Linked DNA regions of Homo sapiens: regions 1 and 2 are each linked to region 3. Evidence: promoter capture Hi-C in 16 types of primary human blood cells and fetal thymus (Javierre and others, 2016). All regions are on one chromosome and are shown on one strand. The core of a region is centred on a gene start or on the middle of the fragment in contact, and the rest is flanking DNA. Distances in the headings are between cores, read along the strand shown. Region 1 overlaps LOC107984123 (a long non-coding RNA gene). Region 2 overlaps LOC124901750 (a long non-coding RNA gene). Region 3 holds the start of AGBL3 (AGBL carboxypeptidase 3).

Region 1 (4,237 bases), core at 924-3,423, 270 kb before region 3:
GACGCTCACTGTCACTCTGGCTGGAGTGTAGTAGTGCGATTACAGATCACTGCAGTCTTGACCTCTGGGCTCAAGGGATCCTCCTGTCTCAGCCTTCCGTGTAGCTGGGGCTACAGGCATGTGCCACCGCACTCTGCTAATTTTTTAAAAAATACTTTGTGGAGACAGAGTCTTGTCATGTTGCCCAGGCTAGTCTTGAACCGCTCGGCTCGAGCAGTCCTCCAGCCTTGGCTTCCCAAAGTGCTAGGATTACAGACATGAGCCACCATACCCAACCTCAGCTTCTTATTTCAGAGAAATCTGTAAAGGAGTAATCAGATGAGAAACTGTGCAAACACCTGCATGTCTCCACTCCTAGCTTTGGTGCCCCTTGACTCTCCCTCCTGTTGGGTGAATGAGCTGCCTGGCTCCTCCCTGAAGCTGGTTCCTCCCCTTGTGCTCCAGAGCCCATTCCCTGATTTCTATTCAAGGGTTTCACTGCGACAAGTCTCCTATCTTGCATCAAGTTTTCTCTTTCTTTCAGTAACGCATGTCAGCATACACACCTGCTGTTATTTCTGCTATCTTAAAAAAAGATTTTTTTTCTTAAAAAGAGACTTTTGTGAGTGTGTGCCATGGTAGGCTTAAAGTAACAGGGTCCCGCCCATCTAACATGCTGTAATAAATGTGCTGGAGCTGAGGACCTGCGCTTAGCTGCTCCAGGAGTCCTGGATGCCTCTCATACCAGTCAAGAGCAGGCCCATCCTCTTTCCTTACCCTACTGCTTCTGTGCCCACAGAAGCCCTTCACATCCTGTCTCATTCTGCCCTTTGTTCCTTTTCCTTTGGTTGACAGCTCCAGGACTTCAGAACATTCCCTATGTTCTCACCAAACAGCTGCCAGGCAGCCAGGCTCAGTTTTCCAAGTGGGTTTTCCTGTACTTTATTTTCGTATCGTGCTGTCCCCAGGCAGCCAAAGCAGGATGAACAGCAGGAGAAGAGAGCCAGGCCCTCTCCTGGAACAGCCTCCTGGTCTTCCCTCAGCTGTACTTTTTTTTATTGTCAGAACACGTAGTTTCAGAGCTTCAGGAACAAGGCAGCTTTGTGAGAAGCATATGCAAGAAGGGACAGATTTCTGACATTTCCATAAAAGCACAAAGGCTTGTTTTGTTCAGAATCAAGGTTGGAGAAGTAGCTGGTGGATAAGAAGTAATTGACGAGATGGGCTTGGGGTAATTAGCTTGATTCAATTAGCATGAGGTGGAACTGAGTTACCCAAGCTAGATGTCAGCTCAGCCCAGCCACCACCCGCCCACACCATCTGCACTCAATAAGCATTTATCTGTTGGAGCTTTTTCTGCACATTCCAAGGTCGCTATCAGAATCTGAATCCCCTGTTCTGATAATGCAGTGCCTAGAGCCACGGCCTCGCAGCTTCCCTCCTTCACCTCCAATCTTGCTTCTTCCCGCCTCCACTTGACCTCCCATGATCCCCCTCCCAGTCATCACCTAGAGGTGATGCACAGAGTGGCCGACAGAGTGAACTCCAAGGGCTGGCTTCACATTCCTACATCCTAATTCTTTAGAGGCAGGGCTTTTTTGTGACTTTAAACAACAAAATTGTTCCCCATTCATTAACTTATTGGGGATAAAAAGAGTTAGAGGTGAGGTGATCTGAGATTCTTCTATTAAATGGTTTGGGGCTTCAGTTAAATCATTGTTTCTTCATCTGTCAAATGGCAGTAATAACAGAGGCCCAACCTCCACAGGGAGCTGCTATAACAACAACAACATAAAAATCCCCAAGGGGTACCCGTGATGTTGGTTTCATGTGTCAAGCTGGCCAAGCTATAGTATCCAGTTATCTAATCAGGCACTCCTTTAGGGGGTGTTGTGAAGGCATTTTATAGATGTGGTTAACAAACCAGTCCACTTTAAATTAAGAAGATTGCCCTTGCTGATGTGATTGGGGCTCACCATCCATTAGCTGAAGGCCGTAAGAACAGAACTGAGGTTTCTGGGAGGAGACATTCTTTCAAGACTGCACTGCCAACTCCAGCCTGAGTTTCCAGCCTCCTGGAAGCCCTACAGATTTCAGACATGCAGTCCCCACAAACAGATAAACCAATTTCTTAAAATAAATCTCGGTGTCTCTATATCGTATTGGCACTGTTTTTCTGCAGAACTCTGATTGCTACAGTACTGACTGATATAGGAAGATACCTTCCCGATACAAGTCCTTGGTGGGGAGGAAGGGAGATTGAGAACCACGTGAAGGTAGTTTTATGCAATAACTCCATCCCAGGCTATGCCAATACCCAAGGCTGCAGGAGAGAAGCAGAGGGCTGTTGGGCTCACAACCCAGCACAAGGTTGTGGGGGGAAGGGACACCTCCACATCCTGCTGAGGTCCTCTCTGACTAGGGGCTGCTGGCAGGTATGGCTCAAGGAATGAAGTCGCAGCCTTGGACTAAATAGGATCAGGGTGGAGCTTGGTACAAAGAGGGAGGGGCTGGCTAGCACTGGCATACATTGCTTGAGGGCCTACTATGTGCACGCCCCTCTGTAAAGCTGCATTTCTTCTTTCCCACACAGCTGGCTTGGTGAGCCTCTAGGGGTGGCCAACCTGAGCTCCTGCATTCCTGTCTTTCCAGCAGGAGTTCAAGCTGCCCCTGAGCACAAAGGCCCTTCCTGCCCAGCTCCTGGAGAGCCTCCCTCTGCCCACTCGGTGCGGTGATTTGTAAGCTGTGAAGGGCTTGCGAAGCTCCTATCCCTGCACACCCCGGGGGAAGTCCTTGAGTGCGGGCTCATGCATCTCAGGACTGCTTTGGAGTCACACAGGACTGGGTCTGGGTCCTAAGACTTAGCCGGTGTTTCAGACTCTCGCTAGGAGATAACACAGTCCAAGCCTTTGGGAGGGCCTCAGTGCAGGGGAGGGGCTGCTATGATGCCTTGAAAACTGTAAAGAGCCATGCAAGCCCATTCTCCCCGCACACCCTGCATTAGTCTGGGTTCTCCAGAGAAATAGAGCCAATAAGATGTGTATATACGTAGATACAGAGAAAGAGAGAGGTGAAATATTTATTTTAAGGAAGGGACCCATGCAGTTGTGGAGGTGCAAGTCTAAAATCTGCAAGGCGGGCCGGCAGGCTGGGAAGAGCCGCAGTTCAAGTCCAAAGTTGGACTGCTGGCAGGATTCCCTCTTTCTCCCGGGAGGTCGGTCTCTTTCGATTCAGGCCTTTAACCTATAGGAAGCATTCTGAGGATCATCTGCTTTACTGGAAGTCTCCTGACTTAAATGTTAATTTCATTAACAATACCTTCACAGAAACATCTAAAATAATGTTTGACCAAATTCCTGGGTATCACAGACTAGCCAGGTTGACACATAAAATTCACCCTCACCCCCAGTGTCCAAGCCCAGGTACACGTATGCACCCTTTGCCCAGAAGCCTCACCAGAAAGCCCTCGGAACCCTCGGACCTCACTGTAGCTCCTGTTCAGGTGACTTTATTACCAGGAGCAGCAGATGAATCTGGTTCCACCCAGCTGTCCTGTGGCACAGGGTTGAGGTCAGCACTGCCCCTGGCTCTCAGAGTGTGCAGGATGAGCAGGTGGGCTGTGGAACTCTCTAGAACCCATCAGGGCAATGCCCTGTGCCCAGGACATGCTGAAAGTACCTGGTGTTATGTCACCTCCGAGGACAGATCCTGCCTGTCCTCCTTGAAAGGCCCATGGCCTGGGCCCCAGCTGTACTTTCTACCCCCTTAATAGGAGCACAATAGCAGCAGGCCAGCCCTTTGTGCCAAACAGTCCCTAAAGACCAACACGAGGCCGTGCTTCTCTTATACTTTATAATAATCAGAAACTAAAATCATCAAAATGCTTCTGGAACAACCCACTCCAAAGAGTCCTGGAGGCCAAGGCAGGTGCAACCTTAGCTGCCAGCATTCAACCTTGGGAACTGCCCACCTCATTCAGTCCCTCCCCTCGCAGCTCCTCTTCTGCATTACAAATCTTCATCGTCAAAGGTCTCTGTGCACTGCAACATGATCATCTCTTCATCAACGGGAAAGGATGCTTCCTGCAAGACACAGGGTGGAAGAGGGTCACTTTTTATCTGTGGGTCTTGGGCCCGAGGCAGATAGGAAGGCTCCTGCATCTCCGGTGTGCCCAGCCCCCAGACTCTATCCTACGTCTCTTCCGCTGCATTTTCACCTCCAGCTTGGGCCAGGAAGCAAGGGCTCTAAGGGGGGAAGG
Region 2 (4,009 bases), core at 749-3,248, 270 kb after region 3:
AACTAGAATGTTTTAGCTGTGCTCTAGCTTTAAGAAAGAGAAAAACCATCAGAGGAAAAAGCTACAGTCAGGGAATGAAAAGAAAAACCCCACCATAGATCTTCAGGGTAGAGTCACACTTGCTTAGAGCCAAACGGAAACCCCATCACAAAGTATTGAGACTGCGTTCCATAAATTACACAGCACGAGCTACCCCACTACTATCAAGTCTTACCTATGTGATGAAAAATATTCTTCAAGTACTGACTCCAAATCTGATAGGATATTGTGGTTACCATATGTTGATCATTTACCAGTATTCCTACAGCAATAATGTTGCAAGGAATACCATCATCTCCATTGATGGAGATGGAGACACTACCGCCAAGAAGGGTGGAATAACTGGCCTGAGGTCACACAGCTAGTCACTGGGATTGGCTGTAGACCCCCTCGGTCTTTCCCCTAAACCACATCCACCCTTCACCCCCCCACCTCCCCTAAACACACACAGCCATGGGGTTGTATTTTTTGCTATAGTAGAACAGTAAACCCAGTAAACTGTTCTACTATAGCAGTAGAAACCAGCAGTAGAACAGTAGAAACTGTTCTACTATAGTAGAAACCCAGGAATTCTAAGTTTTTTAATCCACAAAGGCTGAAACAAAATCATGCCTTGTGCTCAATTCATAGAATTGCAGAATTCCAAGGCTGGCAGGACTCCAGGGTCATGAAGTACCCCATCCTTTTTTTTTTTTTTTTTGCAGATGACTTAAACCAGGCTCAGTGAGTTGAAAGGCCCAAAGTCACTGCAGTTAATCAGAAAATTAAATTAACTGAAAATCGCCGTTCTTGAAAATATCCTATTCCCAGGCATTTTCTTGCACCCCTAAGGGGAACATTCTTCTCTTCCAGAGGGCTGCTCCACTGCTCTTGCCACAACTGTGGGGGACACAGGGAGGCCACAGAGCCTCCTGTTCCAGCGGCCTATAGCGAATATCAGGAACAGCCCCAGGCTGTTGGGCTACAGGTAGGGAGAAGATTCAGAGGGTCTGTTAGGCAGACCACAGCTTTGCTAAGAAGTTACATGGCAAACACCAAATCACCAGTTCTCAACTCTTTGTTTGATGCTATTACTTTTATAATCTATGGTTCCCTTTAAATCTAGTGTAATATGACAAGCTTATAATTCAAAACACATTTGTACAAAATGTAAAATACACACTGTACAAGCCCATGAATATAAGACACAATGTTCCCTTCAGGCCTCCTACTGAAAGCAGACAACACTTCTTCAAATCATCTGACATTTCTTGTCTGCTAGCTTGAAGACCCTTCATTCCCCACTCTCTGTTGTTTTCCTATTGACCAACTGCTACATTTCATGTGGGTCCTCTTGCTCATGTATGAGTGCATGTTAAGCGTTTGTTTTCCTTTAGGACAGACATTCCCTGCTGTGTTTTTCCTGGATTTGGACTATTTTTACTATTTACTTTATGTTGCCATGGAGATGGGGAGATCACAGATGTTAAGCGTTGGAATCTGGGGCCACAGGAGACATTTATCATTGTACTTTGTATGAAGTAGGCTCTTGTTCCCCATTTCTGCAAAGCCTCATGTTTATTTTATAAAGAAGTTACTAATGAGGACTCAGGCCTAATAAATAATGGGAAACTCTGCTTCACCTCCATGGCACATGCTTATTACAACAGCGATCTTATTAGGAAGGAAGGTAGAGCTCCTGAACACACAGAGATTAGCAGCCGTCAGTTTTTTCCTCTGCAGGAAATAGAAGGATGCATCAGAACAAGGGGCCCATTCATCATTCTTTCCCAGCTCCTTGAAGAAGAGAAACTTTCCCAAATTATTTCAACTATGCTCTGCAAGGAAAAAAAAAAAAAAAAAAAAGAGGAGGGCTAACCAGAGTGCCACTGTCGTCACTAACAAATGTTTGCTGATTACTGGTGAACAAAGGGTGAGTCTGACTTCAGCAAAATACAGTGGGTGAAGTTTACAAAGGCTACATTCTAAAAAATACTAAACATAGGTGCTGAAAGCATACACGCTAACCAAAGCGGGGGTTAAGAAACCCAGCTTTTATTCTTTTGAAGGATCTGTGTAGCTCAAAGTACAACTGAGTTGAAACAGAGATACAAACAAGAAAACAAACACTCACTGCGGGCATCTTTGGCGATTGATGTGAACATTTCGGGGGCATCTTTGGTGATTGATGTGAACATTTCGGGATTTGAACATTTTGGCTTTTGAACAGGTAACTCTCAAAATTCATTCCCTTAAGACTCAACCAAGGTAACTTTTGGCTTCTGTCACCTTGTCCAAACCAGATTGGGGTCCTTAAAAGCTCTTTTTTGCACACACACAAGGCCGTTGACGTCCAAGCAAAACAAAATGGACAAACACATATCGGACAATGGCCATTGATGGGCCCAGCTACACTCTTCCTGTGCTTGGAGAAATCTCTCCTATCCCCCCTCGCAAACTACCGGTTTCTTTCCCTGGACGCTGTTCTCTGCCTGCTCTTTCTAGGAGACAATGATGACTGCCCCATTTCCCTGGACTCTAGCCCTTTGCCTGATTGGTACTTTATTTAGATTGGCTGTTTGGCTCTTCCTAGGCTTCACCCTGGGTGCTCTGCTACTTTTTACAGGTCTACACCAAGTTCCTCTGGCGAGCCTCATAACCCTGTTCTGCTCCCAACTCTTGTTGTAGGGACCCCAGCCCTCTATTTGCCCTGTAAAGTTATTTGGACATATTTTTTTATCCCTTTTTGTCTCTCCTCTTTCTATTTTTTTCTTCCTTATTTATTCTTCACTTCTCCCTTTCCTTCTTCTCTGAAGCTTAAATTTTCTCTTTAAACAATCATTTTTCCGTTCCCAGTGACCTTCATAATTTGGTCTGAAAGTTAATATTTCTGTAGCTAAAATGTTTTAAGAGGCAATAGTGGCAGAAAGAACATTGGACTAGCTTCAGACCTTAGTTCTAACATTTGTGAGCTGTAGGATATTGGGGAAAATAATGTCCTTATACCTCAGTTTCTTCATTTGCAAAATGGAGATAATACTCTATAGTGTACACAGTAGTCATGAGGCTAGCATGGGTGAGAACCACTGATAGGTTCCCAGTAAAAGGTAATTATTTCATTCAACTTGACTCAAAAATTTATTTGGCAAGTGTTATTCATCTAGGTATGACATCTAAGCAATAGTGACAATATTTTGGGGAAATAAAAACTCCAGAAACAGTTGTCAAGAACTGCTAAGGGTCTTAGATTTTACCCTTCTTGAAAACTAGCAACCAGTATAAGACATGAGACTTCTGGGTCAGAGACAAAGAATTTTATTATTCACAACAACAGCAGTAGCCAACGTCTTCTGATTGCAACAGAAATTTGTACAGTAATTTACTCTAATTTTAAAACAGCTGAGGCCAGGTTTTATGCATTTTTAATGCATAACAAGCCTTTTATAAATCATCTGTATTTTACTACTTGTCTCTGCTCCCATCTCAGATACATCATTATATGAAACATTTTTTTCCCATTAAATAAACACATGTATACAAATAAATATAAGTATGTAATTTATAGCAGTTGAGTTTAGTGATTAAAAACTCAGGTTCAGAAGTCAACCTGCCTCGGCTCAAATCCCAGCTTAACCACCACAGAGTGACCTTGGGCAAGCTATTTAACTTCTCTGTGCCTTTTTGTCATGTCTGTAAAATGGAGATAATAACAGTGTCTACTTCATAAGATTGATGAGTGGATAGAATGTTATAATCCATGTAAAGTGCTTATGACATCAAGCTTACAATAAATGGTAGCTATTATTAATAGTGTAAATTCACACAATCCTTTGGATTTCATCTTCTTTCCCAAGAGGAGGATTTAAAAAAATGTTTTCAATCTAGAACTTAGGGTTTCAGAATAAATCCACAGGCACTTATAAAAAAACTGCTCTCCCATTTTTCTTCTCTTACCATGAACCAACTTTAGATTGATTCTGTGTTTAAAAAC
Region 3 (3,808 bases), core at 817-3,316:
TTTAAGAGCTTATTTCGGGACATTAGTTTACATACATAATTTATACTTTAATAAAATTTGAAGGAAATCTCGCAGCCTATGTAGTAGAAAAAGACTAAAGAATTTTAAATACTACGTTTTTCCCCCTTTTTCTTCTTCCATGTCTCTTCCTTTATGACATCAGAGCCACAATAAACTGTTATGGTGATACACAATAAGGTTAGAACACGGTGGTTCTACTATGATTCATACTACGATGTAACACAATCCAATCAGCACATAGAAGAAAATAAGTGGACATCAATCCTAAAACTAAAACCCTACTAATAATTTCATATACAAATTTTAATAAAACCTAGAAGAATCTTAGCTAAAATATTTTCTCAAAAAAAATACAAATATAGTTTCTCTTTCTAGACAGGGCATAGTGTTCCCAGTGATAGCTTAGCTTTTTCAGCCAAATTATTTCCCAACTTCAATGACAATAATTTAAACATCCAATTGATTTTTATATCCAATTGATTTTATAATATTTTAATTGGGGATTTATATAATACAAATTTTATCTCCAAGTAAAATAAAGTTGAGAAAAACATACCGATTCATCTTCATCACTGATTGTTCTGTCTGAATAGTCTTCCTTTTCTGAATCTTCTGACATCTTTTCCAGTGTTTGACTTGAGATTTCTTGTAATATACGGGTAGGCTGTAAAACAATTTCTAAGGAAATTATATGACAGCTTTTCTTTTCAAGCTGTAGGTGTTTACTACATTAAATGAGTACTCAAAAATATATTCAATTGTATTTAACAGTCACAACAGTCTTCTCTAAAAACTAATTAGAATACAACTAATAAAACCTTCAATTTCAAAGAGTTAAAGGAATTTTCCATGACTATACGAGACAACAACCACAATAAGACAAATCAAGCAAATCATTTAATTAAAAGGAATTTCCAGAGTATACAGCCAAATCATTCACATTTTATATTTACAATTAAATACTACACAGCAAGTTCAGAATGATCCTGAGGCATTAAAAGATAATGAATTTAAAAATTATAGTCACTTACTGAAATGTAGCAATATAATTTTAAGTTTTCTCCTTGATTTTCACTTGACCAAAAGTTCAAGTGACAAGACTTTACATTTTGATTATTATTCTGTAGATACTGTCTGTTCTAATATTCATTTATATTATTCTTATTCTTAGAAATCTAAATAGCTACCAGAAGGTTGTATTGGTAATGACCATTACCATTCTATGCAAGTATCTTCCCATGTGGGTAATATCAAGACCAGGGAATAATCGAAATTTCTTGTCAAGTTCCCATCGTTCTTGAGAGACCAAAGGACTCGACAATTTCAAATCTATTAGTTTACGCCCCTCTCTACAGGAAGCGTGTTTTGGAGCGTGGACTACATATAAGTTAAGTCCAAGCTCTATGGCAAATCACTGCCAATGCCACGGAACCGACTGTCTCATAGATGACACCTTCAGTCCTAAGAAACTGAAGTTTCTGCCTGGGCATCACAACTCCACATTTGGAAAATCCGACTGGCCTAAATTCCATTCCTTACAGGTGCACACAGGGCGCACGAAGTGCTGACCTGCTGCGGATACAGCTCTGGTCTCAGGAAACGGCCCTTATCCACCGGCGCTCCGCGGGTGTCTTCCACCACTGCGGAGGAGGGGCAGATGCGGGCGCGTCCACGCTTAGCCGCGTCCCGACAGTACCAAGGCGTTTTTGGCGGGAAGCACGATGAGGCCACAACTCCGGGCGGCCGAGTTCCTTCCCGCACTCACTCCTGGACACCTTGGTGTGGGGAGGCGCTCATTTTCCGGGGCGCGCTCGCTTCCCGCAGGGGGCGCCCCGCCTTACTTCTGCATACCTCACCGTCCTGTCGGGGCCGGCACCTCGCTCCCACGCGAGTCCTCTGGCCAGGCCAGTCGTCGCTTCCGTGCGGGGAGAATATCTCGGGATCTCGCGATCTCGCGGAGAACCCGGTATCCAGCCGCTAGAAGTAACGCCACTGCTGGAGATCCGCAGCCCCAGCCACACTCCCAACTCTCGTCATCAGGCAACGGGTCCGCCCTCGCGAGACTTCGGACAGCCTTCGGAGATCACCTAGCAACCAGCTCGGAGGAAAGGAGCCTGCGTAGGTTTTGGCTCCAGGAAGAGGGATCCCAGAGGATGCCGGGAACTCGGGGTGGGCCGCAGGGCGGTCAGAGAGGCTCTCAGAGAGGCTTTGGGGTCTGTCGGGAGAATTTAGGAGTGGGGAAGACCGGGCAGCTATTTATTCCCAGTGGTCTGCACTTCGGCTGTTGCCTCAGAGGAGGCAGTAGAGCATGCTGGTTAGGACTGTGCTTTGGAGCCCACCTGACTTTTAACAGTGTGACATTGAACAAATTAATTACCTGGACTTCATGGGTACAATACTTGTAACTACTACTTGGAGATGTTAGAATATTAAAAAGTACGTTGGTCTTGATTTTTTACAGACTGAGTTCCATTCTACACAATTGTGCGATTAATTCGCTTATTCGATTCTGGAAAATGAGGCTTTTCTCCTTAAATACTAAATGGAGAGTCATAGATGAACTAGGGTGAATTCTCAAAATTATCAGCTCAGAGATTCTTTATAGCAATCGTCAGCTAGCATATTTAACACTGTTTTCCTGATGACTGCAAATCACTATATGTAGTCTCATTTAGTTAACAGACGTTATTCATGAACATCCCATATTGATTTTTTCCCTCATCTTTAGCTCTACAGGGTAAGGTAATCTATTTGGAAAAGTTTTCCAAGTACAGCTGAAAAAAAGTCTAGATTTTGATGATATAAGAATGTAAATAAACACTTTTCACAAAGCGTTATATGTCATGAGATTCGTGATATTGTAGAAATGGAGATAATAAATGGTAGCAAGTTTGAAAGTAGAATAAAGGGCAAAGCACTATGGCTTAAGCATGGAAATGGGTTAACATAATCTCTTTGTATTTTGTAAGTATCTGAAAATAGGTGTTTTTGAGGTCAGCAGTTTAAAAGTATGAACCTTCCAGATTAGACCTTGGCCAGAGAATATTAATAGAGTATATCTTAGATCAACCTCTTGAAAAGTAGCTCTTATAGTTGAAGCTTGTTTTATGCCATACATAAATCACTAAAGGTGACATGCACAGAGAAATCTTTATTTATGTAATCTGTTTTTCTGTTGGATTTTAGTCATGGCTGCAAGCCATAGGATGTCAGCTGTACAAGGTAAAACTGAGAAATGGTCTAACCAGGTTATATAAGAAATTAATGGCAGGGCTGAGAGACTTAAGTCTCGTGATTTTTAGTCCAAATAGTTATATTATCACATACCAAGTAGTCCATGGGAAGAAAAATGATCTTAATGCATAATTTTAAAAACTTAGGATTTTTTTTTTTTTTTTGAGACAGAATCTCACTTGCTCTGTCGCCCAGGCTGGAGTGCTGTGGTGCAATCTCAGCTCACTGCAACCTCTGCCTTTGGGGTTCAGGTGATTCTCATGCATCCTGACTAGCTGGGACTACAGGCACGTGCCACCACTAATTTTTGTATTTTTTAGTAGAGACGTGGTGTCACCATGTTGGCCAGTGTGGTCTCAAACTCCTGGTGTCAAGTGATCCGTCTACCTCAGCCTCCCAAAGTACTGGGATTACAGGTGTGAGTCACCGTGCCTGGCCAAAAACTTAGGAACTTGGCAAAACTTTGAAAATGATATTCATTCATTATTTTATTAACAACTTTTTTCTTTTTAAAGACAGCTCTGTCACCCAGGTTGGGGTGTAGAGGCACAAT

Evidence for each region. Contacts are between HindIII fragments. The CHiCAGO score rates a contact against its expected background, and 5 or more counts as called.
Region 1: a contact is called between a fragment that was not itself captured here and the fragment with the promoter of AGBL3 in region 3, in 1 of 17 cell types (neutrophils). The highest score is 6.5, in neutrophils.
Region 2: a fragment that was not itself captured here is called in contact with the fragment with the promoter of AGBL3 in region 3 in 1 of 17 cell types (total CD4 T cells); the score reaches 6.0 in total CD4 T cells.

What each region holds. Positions count from the first base shown.
Region 1 is chr7:135,258,242-135,262,478 of GRCh38, reverse strand. LOC107984123 (a long non-coding RNA gene) reads left to right here. Exons shown (of 6, transcript XR_007060540.1): 6 at 1-4,237. STRA8 (stimulated by retinoic acid 8) reads right to left here. Exons shown (of 9, transcript NM_001394401.1): 9 at 3,816-4,061. The coding sequence ends at 3,987. Among named protein-coding and RNA genes, the nearest start is that of STRA8, 27 kb to the right of the region's middle. The HindIII fragment of the contact is 8,504 bases long and covers 1-4,237 here.
Region 2 is chr7:134,718,060-134,722,068 of GRCh38, reverse strand. The region is part of intron 1 of LOC124901750 (a long non-coding RNA gene); the gene reads left to right. It also overlaps a transcript of CALD1 not described here. Among named protein-coding and RNA genes, the nearest start is that of CALD1, 60 kb to the left of the region's middle. The HindIII fragment of the contact is 1,676 bases long and covers 1,161-2,836 here.
Region 3 is chr7:134,984,766-134,988,573 of GRCh38, reverse strand. AGBL3 (AGBL carboxypeptidase 3) reads right to left here and starts at 2,066. Exons shown (of 17, transcript NM_178563.4): 1 at 1,873-2,066; 2 at 578-699. The coding sequence starts at 640. RefSeq lists enhancers at 1,375-1,634, 1,715-1,854, 1,865-2,164. The HindIII fragment of the contact is 3,121 bases long and covers 2-3,122 here.